Regions from separate parts of the Homo sapiens genome. Here regions 1, 3, 4 and 5 are each linked to region 2. The links are contacts of gene promoters, found by promoter capture Hi-C in human tissues and cell types (Jung and others, 2019). All regions are on one chromosome and are shown on one strand. Each heading gives the region's core, a stretch centred on a gene start or on the middle of the fragment in contact. The rest is flanking DNA. Distances are from core to core; before and after follow the strand shown. Region 1 overlaps LOC105372790 (a long non-coding RNA gene). Region 2 holds the start of RCAN1 (regulator of calcineurin 1). Region 3 overlaps LINC00649 (long intergenic non-protein coding RNA 649). Region 4 overlaps LOC105372790 (a long non-coding RNA gene). Region 5 has its middle 14 kb from the start of MRPS6.

What was found. The method cuts DNA at HindIII sites, captures the fragments that hold promoters and counts their contacts. A contact is called where the count stands out against the background at its distance.
Region 1: a fragment that was not itself captured here is called in contact with the fragment with the promoter of RCAN1 in region 2 in 1 of the 25 tissues and cell types used here (lymphoblastoid cells).
Region 3: a contact is called between a fragment that was not itself captured here and the fragment with the promoter of RCAN1 in region 2, in 2 of the 25 tissues and cell types used here (dorsolateral prefrontal cortex and lymphoblastoid cells).
Region 4: a fragment that was not itself captured here is called in contact with the fragment with the promoter of RCAN1 in region 2 in 1 of the 25 tissues and cell types used here (lymphoblastoid cells).
Region 5: a fragment that was not itself captured here is called in contact with the fragment with the promoter of RCAN1 in region 2 in 2 of the 25 tissues and cell types used here (lymphoblastoid cells and spleen).

Annotation. Positions count from the first base shown.
Region 1 is chr21:33,997,087-33,999,786 of GRCh38, forward strand. All of the region lies in intron 2 of LOC105372790 (a long non-coding RNA gene), which reads left to right. Among named protein-coding and RNA genes, the nearest start is that of LINC00649, 67 kb to the left of the region's middle. The HindIII fragment of the contact is 3,518 bases long and covers 1-2,700 here.
Region 2 is chr21:34,613,846-34,616,545 of GRCh38, forward strand. It overlaps RCAN1 (regulator of calcineurin 1), which reads right to left and starts at 1,268. Exons shown (of 4, transcript NM_004414.7): 1 at 915-1,268. The coding sequence starts at 1,166. RefSeq lists silencers at 783-882, 1,073-1,502. The HindIII fragment of the contact is 10,572 bases long and covers 1-2,700 here.
Region 3 is chr21:33,950,346-33,953,045 of GRCh38, forward strand. The region is part of intron 2 of LINC00649 (long intergenic non-protein coding RNA 649); the gene reads left to right. Among named protein-coding and RNA genes, the nearest start is that of LINC00649, 21 kb to the left of the region's middle. The HindIII fragment of the contact is 6,850 bases long and covers 1-2,700 here.
Region 4 is chr21:34,022,440-34,025,139 of GRCh38, forward strand. All of the region lies in intron 2 of LOC105372790 (a long non-coding RNA gene), which reads left to right. Among named protein-coding and RNA genes, the nearest start is that of MRPS6, 50 kb to the right of the region's middle. The HindIII fragment of the contact is 5,384 bases long and covers 1-2,700 here.
Region 5 is chr21:34,058,195-34,060,894 of GRCh38, forward strand. No RefSeq gene overlaps it. Among named protein-coding and RNA genes, the nearest start is that of MRPS6, 14 kb to the right of the region's middle. The HindIII fragment of the contact is 6,965 bases long and covers 1-2,700 here.

The sequences.
Region 1 (2,700 bases), core at 134-2,633, 620 kb before region 2:
CCAATTTCTAAAGGCCGAGGAAAGATAGTGATTGTCCCAAGGCAATGATGGAAGAGAAGAGTGGAACTCAAGTTGCTTTTTCTACTGTCTCCTCCTAGAGCAGCACCAGCTGGCTCATCCCAGGCTGCAACCCTTACCACTCTTACCACCATACACATGCAACAGTTTCTCTTTCAGTATTCTCACAGTTTTTCCGTTAGTTCCTGAATTTTGTGTTTTGTACCTCAATTAGGTTGACTCTGGGCAAGACGTATAATGGTTTATGTGAATTTTCCATCTTGGCAAAAATTGGAGTCTCAGCAGAGCAACCTTTGTAAGCCTGTTGTATTAGTCAGGCTTCTCCAGAGAAACAGAACAAATAGAATGTGTATATATTTATAGAAAGAGATTTATTATATGAAATTGGCTCATGAGATTATGGAAGCTGACAAGTCAAAAATCTGCAGGGTAGGCTGGCAGTCTGGAAACCCAGGAGAAGCAATGCTTTAGTTATAGTTCTAGTTCAAAGGCAGTCTGCAGGAGAACCAGGAGGTGCCAACATTGCAGATGAAGTCCAAAGGCCATCTGCTGGAGAATCCTCTCTTGCTCAGGTGAGGCCAGTCTTACTGCTTTCTATTCAGACCTTCAACTATTTGGAGGATACCCACCCACATAATGGAGGGCAATCTACTCAAAGTCTATGGATCTAAATGTTAATCTTATCCAAAACCAACCTCACACCCAGAATGGTGTTTGACCAAATATCTGGGCGCCCCATGGCCCAGTCATGTCAACACGTAAAATTAACTCTTACACCTGCTATTCCAAGTATGGTTTGAGGACCAGCATTGGCCTCACCTGGGAGCTTGCTAGAAATGCAGAATCTTGGGCCCACTTTTGCCAAGATGCCTGCATTGGAATAAGATGCGAATCTTTTCAATTTATTGAGCCAGAGCTTCATATCAGTAAAAATAAGAACTTTGGATTACATAAGAGATTCTCTGATTAATGTCCCTGCATGATCAGGGATCTTAAAAAAAAAACAATTACATAAAACTGCCTAGGCTCACCCCAGACCAATTAAAACCGAATCCCTAGAATAGGGCTCAGGCATCTCTTATCGTGTTTTGTTTTGTATTTTTTTTTTAAATCTATGCTGGTGAATCTGTTATCCACTGAAGGTGAGAATCTTCAGAGTTGTGCTTCTCAAACTACAATATGCATGCACATCACTTGGAGATCTTGTGAAAAATGCAGATTCTGGCTCATGAGACCTGGGAAGGCTGGAGATTGCATTTCCATCACTTCCTGTTTCAGGACCACTGTTGGACTTGGGAGATGCTAGACTGGATGACAGGTGAGATCCTTTGCAGTTCTGAACTGCTCTGATCCCTGAAACCAGGAGAGCTTCACAGGTTTGCCAAGGTGGGTTCCACCCAGGGACACACCTCTTAGTATCTAACCAGGAAATAAGGCCTCCCTCTCTGTGGTTTCCAGCATCTTCTGAACTCCTCAAGTCAAAGAAATCAGATGCCTTCCTGCTGCTGCTACCCACATGGAAACTAATACATTGCTCCTATTGAAAGCTTGGCTCTGTGCCCTGTGGCCAGAGTATAAGGCTCTAGAAGATATTAACTGTGTCCTCTGTGGGGATGGGCAGATTAAGAATGGTGATTTGGCATCAGAGTAACCTCATGTGGTGACTGAAAAACGTAAACTAATTGCAGACCAAATTTAAGATGGTCGTACCTGAAGCCTAAGCCGAGGCCTGAGCGGCACCCTCAAGAGTCCCCTCTTGTCTCCTCAGCTGGAATAACTTTTTCTCAACTGGTGGCTATCTTGGACGTTAGTTTAAAGCTCTGTTGTAATGTATGTCACCCTGACTGGAGTTCTAGGTATTTTGTTTCTTTTCTAGATTGAGATCTTTGGGGCAACCACTATGACTCTCTGCTTTCCTTCCAGTCCCTTCCACCACCCATCCCCAGCTGCGGCCAGGGCAGACCTTAGAAAACCTAAGGGGTTTTACTCCCCTGCTTGGAGCGCTCCAAGGAGGCGCTTGATGCTTGGAGTAAAATCTATACTCGTCCCCATCCTATCTAGTCCCTAATGACCCTGCAATGTCATCCTTCCCCACTGTCCCTTGTCACCCTGCTCCAGCCACACTGGCCTCTCCCCATGCAACAAGCCCACTCTTGCCTCAGGGCCTTCCCAGTTACTATTCTGCTTTTCTTTTTTTTTTTCTTTTTGAGGTGGAGTCTCGCTCTGTCGCCCAGGCTGGAGTGCAGTGGAGGATCTCAACTCACTGGAACCTCCGCTTCCAGGGTTCAGGCGATTCTTCTGCCTCAGCCTCCCGAGTAGCTGGGACAACAGGCGTGTGCCACTATGCCCAGCTAATTTTTGTACTTTTGGTAGAGACGGGGTTTCACCATGTTAGTCAGGCTGGTCTCAAACTCCTGATCTCAGGTGATCCACCTGCCTCGGCCTCCCAAAATGCTGGGATTACAGGTGTGAGTCTCTGTGTCAGGCATCCCAGTCACTATTCCTTCTGCCAACACACTCTTCCCCAGCTCTTCATGTAGCTGGCTGCTTCTTTTCATTCATCTCACAGCTTCAATGTCACTGCTTCCAAAGGAAGACCTCCCTTCTAAGTGGTCTTTCTCATGCCAAAATGACTGTGTACCCCATAACTTATTTTAATGTCTCCATAGCATTTATGACTAT
Region 2 (2,700 bases), core at 18-2,517:
TGACAGCATTTGTGGACCCACAGCCAAGCGCTGAAAGCACTGCTTTTTTTGACAGCTGCTCTCCTAATGGGGCATCTCTCAAAGACCGGTTTCATTCTGTGACGCCCACGTTGTCCACATTTTATTCTGCACAATAACTGCAGATTTGAAATAAATTCTTCCTCCCCACCACCATTATTGATTACTCATACCTGCCCCTCACCCTCCAAAGTGTCTAAATTGTGTGGATTTTGCGGGGGTGGGGGGAGGCGGGGGAAGGAGTCGACTCCCCATGTACTGGGTGTCCCCGATGGCGGCAAGCCACACCTTCACACAAGGGGGCAAGGTTCTTGACTAAATATCCTAAAGGTCTGAAAGATGGTCCCCTTCCCCCCAACACAATTCCACCAAAACTGGCCAGCCGCTGGCTAATGAGCAACCACGGATCCTCACCCAAACATTGGCTTTTCTTCCAATAGTGCAGATTGGGAATGCAGGGACGTCGTCCTATTTATGAACACTGAGTCACGTCGCCGCTCAATGTCTGTTTCCTCCTCCCTAGGAATGAGGTGACCCCCTCCTCCAGCGAGTAAATGCGGGGCGATGGCGAGAGCGCAGGGGGCGGCGGCGCTGCCCCACCTTGGGGAGCGAATTCACCCCCCTAGTCGCACCAGCCTGGGCGCACACGGGGGCCGGGGCGAGCCTGTGGGACTCTGCAGTGAGCTCCGCGCGCCCCGGGGGTGCTAGGGGACCGGGACCCTCGGGGCGCCGTCCCCACGCCCCAGCCCTGACGGGTCCGCGGCCGAGCAGCCCGGGGGACGTCGCTGCCTCCCCGCCCCGCGCGCGGCCGGGACTGGGCGCTGCGACCCGCGCCGCCTCCTCGGGCAACAAGTGTCCGCCCTCCGCCCCGACGGCCCGCCCGGCGCGGTCCTCACCCGGCACAGGCCGTCCACGAACACGCGCGGGTCCAGGTGACAGGCGATGGTGGCGCTGGGCAGGTCCTGCAGGTCCACCTCCTCCATCTCGCAGTCAATGAAGCTCCAGTCGCCGCCGCCCTCGTCCGCCTCGGCCGCCCCCGAGAGGGGCGCGAAGGGCCGCAGCGTCACCCCGGGCCGCGCTCGCGCCTCGGCCGCCTCCGCCGCCTCCGCCGCGGCCCCGAGCTGGGGACCGGCCACGCCGTCCTCCATCCCCGCGCCCGCGCGACCCTGTGCGCCCCAGCGGGCTGCTCCGGGCTTGCGCGCCGGAGCCTCACGCGCTCCGGTCCGCGCCCGGCCGGCGGCTCCGCCGTTAACCCCCTCGGAATCGCGCGGCGGCAGGCGGCGGGCTGTCAGCAGTCTCCCAGCGACACGGCCTCCCAGCGCCAGCCCCGCCCGTCACCGTTCCGCGCGGGAGGGGCAGAAGCCCGGCGCGGCGACCGCCCCCCCAGCCCCTAGGGCCGGCCACCGGCAGATCCAACGGTGGCCCCTTTAAGGCCGGCGCCGGTTGGGTTATTGTACCCCGCCCTTCCAGGAGACGGGGCCAATAAAGGAACGGAATTCTCTTCACGTGACCTTCCTTCTGCCGCCCGAAGCCCGAAGCCTCAGGGCGGCCATGTTGGTTAGGGGCAAAGTCCTCGTCCCCAGTTCCGCTTTTCTGACAGCTGGTGCCAGCTGAAGGACGCCGGGCAGAGTCCTCGGCTCTTGGGCCCTTGGGGTGATAACTGGGGAGGCAACGTTTTTGTGGTTCCCATGCGGGGACGTTTTGAAGCACAGGGGCCCACTTTTGGGAATTTAAGCGAGACATAGTCTCCCTGTGGCTCTGTGGCCCCTGGCAAGTGGTTAGATGCTTACCGTATATTATCAGATATAGTCGCAATAAAGACTGAACTAGACCATGATAACAATGCCTTACTTTTCTATTTCAGCGTATTAGTCACTATACCATTGTGAAAATTTATGTAATTAGAAGTAATTTTTCTGAATTACCATTATATGCTATGTACAATAGGACATAACGAAAGAATTAAGAGATCACCCCTTTCCTTTGGGGAATAGCGGAAAAATAAGAGGACCTCAAGTGAGCAGACATGTCTCTTCCTGAAAAATAGAATTCTTTTTTGGACAGTATGATACAGTGAGAACTTGGGTCTGAATTTCAGCTTTGCTTTTTAACTACTTGTACAAATAAGCTGAATCTTAGTTTCCTCATCTGAAAAAAATGAAGACATATTACTAAGAATTCAGTCAGTGCTTAATAAATGGTAGCTGTTTATGCACTGGGTTCTTTGGAGGTTGTGAAATTACAGTTATATTTTTTCTTAGAGTAGGCTTACTCTCTAGTTAGGAAGTGTTAGTAATTATAACAAAAAGTATATCCAACAGCTGAGATTTATTCAGAACTTGCCATGTGCACGGTTCTATGATTACTATTATCATAGTCTTAGGACAGTTTGTGTCCTCAGGGAGCTAAACCCAAGAGGAATAATAATACCCATCTAGAGATAACTCATAAAATAGAATATGATATGAGGATGTGAAGAAATTGGAACCGTCATACTGTGAAAGGGAAATCTTGGGCCCCCAAAATCACTAAGGAAAACTAAAGCTGGAAGTTGCTTAGAGCCAACCAGCCTCCCATTCCATTCAAAGTCACCCCTCTGCTCACTGAGACAGATGCATTTCACCGAGACAGATTTGCCTCCTTTATAAAGACTAATCAGAAACCCAAAGAGTGTAACCGTTT
Region 3 (2,700 bases), core at 195-2,694, 660 kb before region 2:
GCCAGGTGAGAAGTTATAGTAGTTGCTGGGCAAAGTAAATAAGAAGGAGACAGAAAGGCCCAGGCACGCAGGAGACCCCAGCTAAAAGGGCAGGGAGAGGGACACGTTGGTGGTCAAGAAGAGGGAAATGAGGAGGGGCTTTTGGAGATCCCGCCAAAGAGGTGTTCTGTGAACCCCTCCCGCTGACACACCTACTGAAGGGTCCACTGAGACAGCAAAGCAGGAAGGGTGGAAAGGGTCCGCCAGGGGCAGTGCCTGACATGTGCTAGAGGTGACGTAGAATCTGGGATCAGCGACAAAAGATCACACCTAGAACCGTGGTCAAGGATGTGAGCCAGATTTTCTGGGGCTCAGTCCTGGGTTTGTCACTTAACTGTGTCACTTGGAGCAAGTCACATACCTCTGGCAGTCTCAGTTGCTCATCAGAAAAATGGGAATTTTATATATATATATAAAAAATATAATTATATATTTATTTATAATATGTGTATATATAATTATATGATTATAATAATCACAAATGGGATTATATATAATATATAATTATACATTAATTTATAATATATATTTATTTATAATATATGTGTGTATATATACGCATATATACATATGTATGTATGTCTATATCTCTATCTTTCGGGTTGTTTTGAGAATTAAATGACCTAACCCATGTAAAGCCCTGTGTACCGTGCCTGGCATGTAGGATACTTCATCACTGTCACCTGTTTTTGTTGTTATGACCTGAGCATCTCCCTGTTCACCAGCCCTTGTTCTTTAGCCACAGGTTGAAGATGACAGTAGATCCTAAGGAACCTCAGTTCTATCCCGAAATGCGAAGGCCTTTTTACTCAACCACAAAGAAGTGGTCAGCAGAAAACTGGTCATCCCGGCCTCTGGGGCCATGCACAGCACTCAGGAGGAGCTACTATTTTCCCTGCCTGTTTACATGCGGCCTGGGGCCTTGTGGGCTATTTGAAAATTAGGACACGAGAAGTCCAAGCAGCACCTGGTAATTAAACTGAGTCCTCTATCAGAGAGAGGCGTGACCTTGAAGGGCATCCATACAGGAGCCAGGGGCAAAGCAGAAGGTGGGAGGGATTCTCCAGGCTTGACCCTCTCAGCACATCTCAGTCAGGGGTGCCTGGCAGCCTAGATTCCAGCCCTGCCCAGTGCCACCCAGAGACCTGAGGGAGGTGGACAGCTGCTCAGCTGGGTGATGGGAGCCTCTAGAAATAGTTGTCAACCTCATCAAACCAGAGATGAGCCCTTAGGACAGCCAGGGTGTTGATTTCCAGCCAGGCAGGGCATTGGTTCTCCAGTGGGATGTGGACAAGGTTCACTGCAGCCTCTCAGCAGATGAACTAGGGGAGAGACACTACCCCAACCATGCTCCCCCGACCCTTCGGTGTTAAGTGAAAGTATCTTCCTTTTTTCTCTCTGCTCTCTCCGCTTTACAACAAAATATTATCTTTAGTCTGCAAAACCAGGGCCAGGAAGAATCTTCACAGCTAGACAGGGCCATGGAAAGATGATGAGGCATATCAGGAACTATGTAATCTTGTAATACTTCTGCTGCAAAACCTCCTGACGTTCTGAATGAACAGTCACATGCAGCCTCTTCAGTGCAAAACTGAGCTCATAAGAAAGTAAAGCAAATCTGTAGGGGCCAAATGAAGAGTGAACTGGAAGTCAGAGCTTCAAGTACATGACTGATGTGGTGTATCCCTTGGGGATGGGGGTGTACACGCTGGTTTTGGGAAGCAGGGCACTTGGGTTTGAAAGTTCATCCAGGACATTTGTGTGACTCTCAGTTTTTGAATATTGGTGAATAGTGCTGCTTAGAACATTCTGGTATGTGAGTTTTTGTTGCACATAAGGTATTTATGTTGAACAAATATTTAAGAGAAAAATTATTGAATTTAGGTATGTATAACCTCAGATTTGGAGAATACTGCTAAACAGTTTTTCAAAGTTGCTGTTCATTTTAAATAACAGCATATGGGCCAGGCACTATTGCTCATGCCTGTAATCCCAACACTTTGGGAAGCCAAGGCAGGAGGATTGCTTGAGGCCAGAAGTTTGAGACCAGCCTGGGCAATATAGTGAGACCCCATCGCTACAAAAAATTAAAATATTAGCTGGGCATGGTGGCGTGCACCTGTAGTTCCAGCTACTCAGGAAGCTGTGATAGGAGGATCACTTGAGTCCAGGAAATGGAGGCTGCAGTGAGCTTTGATCGCGCCAATGCACTCCAGCCTAGGCAACAAAGTGAGACCATGTATCAAAAAAAAAAAAAAAAAAAAAAGTCCAACAGCAATGACAACAGTGTAGGAGCATTCTAATTGCTCCACATCCTCAATTTGTATTGTCTTTTCCTCAGGCTTATTTTAATCACTCTGGTTGGATTTGCATTTCTTTCTTTCTTTTTTTTTTTTCTTGAGATGGAGTCTCACTCTGTCACCAGGTTGGAGTGCAGTGGCATGATCTCAGCTCACTGCAACCTCCGCCTCCCAGGTTCAAGCAGTTCTCTTGCCTCAGCCTGCTGAGTAGCTGGGACTACAGGTGTGTGCTACCATGCCCAGCTAATTTTTGTATTTTTAGTAGAGATGGGGTTTCACCATGTTGGCCAGGATGGTCTCGATCTCTTGATTGAGATTGTGATCTGCCCACCTCGGCCTCCCAAAGTGCTGGGATTACAGG
Region 4 (2,700 bases), core at 13-2,512, 590 kb before region 2:
TACTATGTTTCTATCATGATTAAAGTCATTTTTTTTTTGTCAAAGAAGTCCAGCTGTTTGAACCATCTGAACCGGAAGAGTGGAAAGGAATTGAGGTGTTTCTCCCTCCTTCTAGAAAGTTAAGGGTAGCAGAATTTGAACACCACAAGCCTCAGAGAGAAGTGACAGAGGTGAGGACAGATGACCTAATTGGTTATTCCTAGTTATTAGAATTAGGCGGCTTATCTCTTTTTTCCTAAATGTTTATACCTATGGGAGAATTTTCCAGCTTCCTGGGAACACAATTTTTTTTCTTTCTCGAGAGAGATAAGTGTGTTTACTCTCTGCAGTATCTATTCAACTGCAAGGAAGTATTGCAGGGCAGAAGCAAGCTCTTCAATACAAAGCAGCTCATTTCAAAGCATCCAGGCTTACTTTTGTTGTCTGTGCCTATTCATCCTATAAACTGCTCTTCATCAAAATAGTTAACTCTCCCCTGTTCTGCCCCCATCCACTCTTGAGAATGAGGGGATGGCAGGAAACCATCAATACAAAAATCTATGTGGCAACAACAACCATTTGGCCTGTTGAGAGGTGCTTATGCAGAAAGAAACACAAGAAAACAAAGAGGAAGTGTGTGAACTTCTGACCCTCTTTGCCACATGCCATTTGGTGGGTGGGTGGCATGAGCAAGCATCCTGCAGTGGGTGTTTTTATGGGACCAAGTGACAAAGAGCCAAACAGGGTGAGAACTCATGAGTAGCAAGTGGAAAACTACCAAGAGCTGTCCCATCACTCCTGCAACAAACTTCACCTCGCTCAAGGGAGGGTAGCTGAGGCTCCCTTCTCCAAATCCTGCAAGACACAGGCACTCTGATGGGGCCAGCTCTTCACTGCATGGGAGGGCTTTTGTTGAACAGTGAGTTTCTGTGCCCCGCTCCCTTTTTGGCCCCTTTTGCCCAAGTGGAGTGACACTTTATCAATTGGGGGGGCAGGCAACGAATAGAGGATATTAATGATTGCTAACGGACCCCCATCTGCTGTTCCGCCTGCAGCTTTTATGAAACCCACATTTTAAAATTAACACATGGAAAAGACAGTCTTAGCTCAAAAGTGTCAGCTAGGAAAGGAATTCAATTGATCCCCACTCTGTAGTTGTCTGAGTGGATCTGCTAAATGTGGACTTGCAGGAGGGCAAGAATTGTTCTGAAAACTGATATGAGAACACAGGCCAGCCTGTGCAGTGGCTACATCAAGGAATTCCAGAAGGTTTTACCTTTGGATTTAAATGTTGGCTTTAGCATTTGGTGGAAGTTTTCTGGGGAGATGAGAATATGATAACTCAGGGAGGAACAGTAAAAATTGGCTGAGGACGGCTAATGCCCTGGGGTTAGTGGTTTGCGTTTTCTTAGAACATGCAGGAAGGCAGGGGGCTTTTCTAGAAAGCACTCTGGGTCTGAAGATGTGAGAGCTGTGATTGAGCTGGGTTTAGCCTTTATTGTGACACTCTGGGCAAGAAACTTAACTTTTCTGAGTGTCTGTTAAAAGGTGACAATAAGACCCACATCTCTCAAACGAGACAGTGGGTGAGAAAGTGATTTGTAACACAGGACATTACAATAAATACTACATAAATTTTTTGTATAATAAAACTTGTAAATAATGTAGGCTGTCAATGCATCCGTTTGTTCAAGGAACATATATCTACAAGGAGCTGTTGATATACAATAAATAACAGACTCAGTCTCTGTCCTCACAAAGTTTACAGTTGACACTCACACGCAAACACAAAAGTCCTTTAAAGTGCGGTAAGTGCTATGATGGGTAAATAAAGGCTTCATAGAAGTTTATAAAGATGACGCCTACCCTGGTCTTGGGAAATTTCCAGGAGGCTTCCAGGAGGGAGTAATGTTCAAGCCAGGCTTAAATGCCATCTCCTCGGTGAGGACTCTCATGTACTGCTTAGTTAAAAACTTAACCCCTTACCCTCCTGTTTTATTTTTCTTTAAAGCACTAGCGCTATCTGATGCACTCCCTGTATTCACTTGCTGATAGTTTGTGTCTGTCTCTCTTAACCAAAGTGGAAGCTCATGAAGTGAGATATTTTTCTGTTTTGTTTTCTACCGCATCCTCTGCGCCTAGGATAGGTTATGACACATAGCAGGCACTCAAGATATGTTTGTGGAATAAATGAATATAAAATGTAAGTGTGATTTGGGCAGCCAGGAGAGCTGGAAATAATATTCCAGGAGCAGAAAACCATAAGCAAAGACCAGGAGGCCAAGTGTAGGTGGCTTGGTTTGGCTGGAGTATTAACATGTGAGGGTGGAATATGGAGAGATCAGACTGGGGAAGTAGGTAAGGCCAGATGGTGAAGGGTCTTGTAAGCCAAGTTCAAGGGCTTGGACCTTATTCTGAGGGTTGTAAGGACAGTTGAAGTATTTAATATGGAAGTGATAAGATCTGAGTTTCCACACAGCTTGGGACAGGGAGACCATGGGGAAGCTTCTTTCCTAGTCGAGGAGCAAGACAATGATGACCTGAACTAGGACTATGGCAATGGGGAGAGGGATTAGAAGGGATTGGAAGGGACAGGCCCTGACAGTTGATTGGCAGTGGGGAATGAAGGTGAGGGAAGCTCAGTGATCGGGTGGAGGCAATTCAAGTGACCTCATGGGTGGTGGTCCATTCATGGACATGGGGAAGACAGCAGCAGAAGCA
Region 5 (2,700 bases), core at 80-2,579, 560 kb before region 2:
GGAAAAACTCAGAAGCTGGCACAGAGGGGCACGCTGGCTGAGGTGGGGTAAGCTTCCTGGTACTCGGGAGGTCTGCTAACAAGAGGACAGGAAAGGAGACTGGGACTGGATGGCGTGGTAAGATAGGGACCTGGGCACAGGGATGGGTCACCAGTGTGTGTTGTAGCTGCTCTAGGCAGGGTAAATATTTCCCACCTGAGGAGGGAGAAAAATGCCAGTGGTGTTGCAATGTTACTGTTTTGCACAGCTGCGGACCCAGAAAAGGAGAAGGACACCCTTTCCTGCCCTACTCTAGATTAGAAGATTCCCGCTGTCTTCTATTCCTCCCCAGCTGTTTGTGTTTCAGGCCTTCTGAGGGGGATCATGCTGAAGGCACCTCCAGGGAGAGAGGATGTGGGGGGAGCAGCAATGGCAGAGACCTATGTCCCAAATGGAACCCATGGCTCCAAGGCTGAGGCTCCTCAAGCCTCCAGCTAGACCCCCTTTTTCCTCATCTCCCTCCCTGGGAACTCAACCTAGCCAAAGGCTTCAGGTACCACCCTCAGAGGGGGCACAGAGGTTGATATCCCCAGTTAAGTGGGGACAGCCCACCATCTAGAGCAGGGGTGTCCAATCTTTTGGCTTCCCTGGGCCATACTGAAAGAAGAATTGTCTTGGGCCACACATAAAGCATGCTAACACTAACAATAGCTGATGAGTTTTTTAAAAAATTGCAAAATAAACTCATAGATTTTAAGAAAGTTTACGAATTTGTGTTGGACTGCATTCAAAGCCATACTGAGACATCCTGGGCCACACTCAAAGCCATCCTGGGCTGCATTCGACCCATGGGCCATGGGTTGGACAAGCTTGATCTAGAGGAAATTCCTACCTTATTCTGCCAGCAAATATCTATTCATCACCCTCTGTGTCAGGCATTGTATCAGGGGCCAGGACCTTACCATGATTAGACCAAGGCCCTGTTCTCTGGAGCTTACATTCTACTGAAGCCTCACGGCACTGCAAACCCATTATGTGCTGCAGGCTAACACTGATGGAGCCGGGCACTGTGTTAGAGCCAAATTAGAGCTCCTTACATCCCTTCTGCTCATTAGGATCTGCTTCTTCTCAGCTCCTGGAGTGCCACTGAGCCTTCAAGTGGAGTCAGGTTTCCCCAGCTGTGGAAAGAGGGGACATCTGGGGAATAAGAGTCAAGCAGAGCTTGGTGATCTGAATCAATTTTTCTTTTAAAGCATTGGGCCTTTGTAGCAATAATGGCAAACCGCTATTAAGCACTTCCCACACTGCAGGCTGCACTGTACTTTCCGTGTATTGTGTGTGGTATATTGGACACGACCCTATGCCTTAGGTCTGATTATGTTACAGATGAGGAAACTGAACCACAGAGTTCAGTTACTTGTTCAAGGGTACACAGTCATTGGACACAGGCGGTCTGGCTTTGGCTCCATGCTCTTGACCACCAAGCTGTACTGCTGCCAACTAGCCACCTTTGGTGAGACCTGCTCTGCCTACAATTCTCTTGGATAGTTCTTCTCTTGGAAGCAAGAATTTGTATGCCATCACTGTACTCTCGTGGATTCAGATGGATCTGAAGATGGATGTCAAGTGAGATTCCTCCTCCTGATCAGAGATGGTGGTATCTGCTGTCACTTGAACTTGGCATGTGTGTCCTCAGGATACCTGGGCTATGGGCTAGCCATCTTCCATGGTGGGCATGTAGAGGCAGAGAGTGCTTGTCTCCAAACAGACAAGATGGCATGGGGAGGGTGGGGTGATGTCAGACACTTCATGAGCAGAGCAGAGACAAGATACATGTAGTCCCAGAGAAACCAAGGATGTCTTGTCTAGTTCCCCAGGAGCCCTGGATGTACGTTCTGTTACTGGATTCTAGGATGCACTCTTGAGTCCTTTGATACATCCTTGTTTTTACTTTTTTAATGTAATAATTACAAAATGATGGCCAATGAGATTGGCGAAAATATAAAGAGTGTTGCAAATAGCACTCATTCAACGAATCCTAATCTTTCAGCAAAGAGATTAGCCTGGTGTGTGTATGTATGGGTGAAAGTGTGCATGTATTTGTAGGATCTGCCCACTCAAATCAGGTGATGAAAAGTTGACAGAGGTTTCAATTAAGATTGACATAAGGTGAAATTTGAAAGCCACCCAGAAAACACATGATACACTGTTATGAAACTAAATCCCAGGGCAAAGATGTGGGCACAGAGGGACTCTCTTGACACAGCTGACAAGTTCCAACTCTACTATTCCAACTCCAGTATTCATGGCTGCTCAGGCAAAATCATTCTGGAAGTACAAAGCACCTGTGTCCAGATTTGGTGTTTACTTCTCTACCAAGAACTTGAATTTGTAACTGAGTCAAGGTCCTGAATCTGCCACCAGTAGACTCAGTTCACTGGAGACAGCAACTCTCTTCCCCTCAGTTGGGTAAGGGACTTTGCAACCCTGGGAAAATGTAGAGACTAGTGTAGAATCAATGAGGAGCAGAATCAAAACCAGAATACTATCATATTTTACTGATTCTAAGGTGCACAGTGTTTTACATTTTACCATCTTGGGAATTAGAATGCATTTTACAATCGATGGCATCAGGCCACGCACAGTGGCTCACACCTGTAATCTCAGCAGTTTGGGAGGCTGAAGCAGGTGGATCGCCCAAGGTCAGGAGTTTGAGACCAG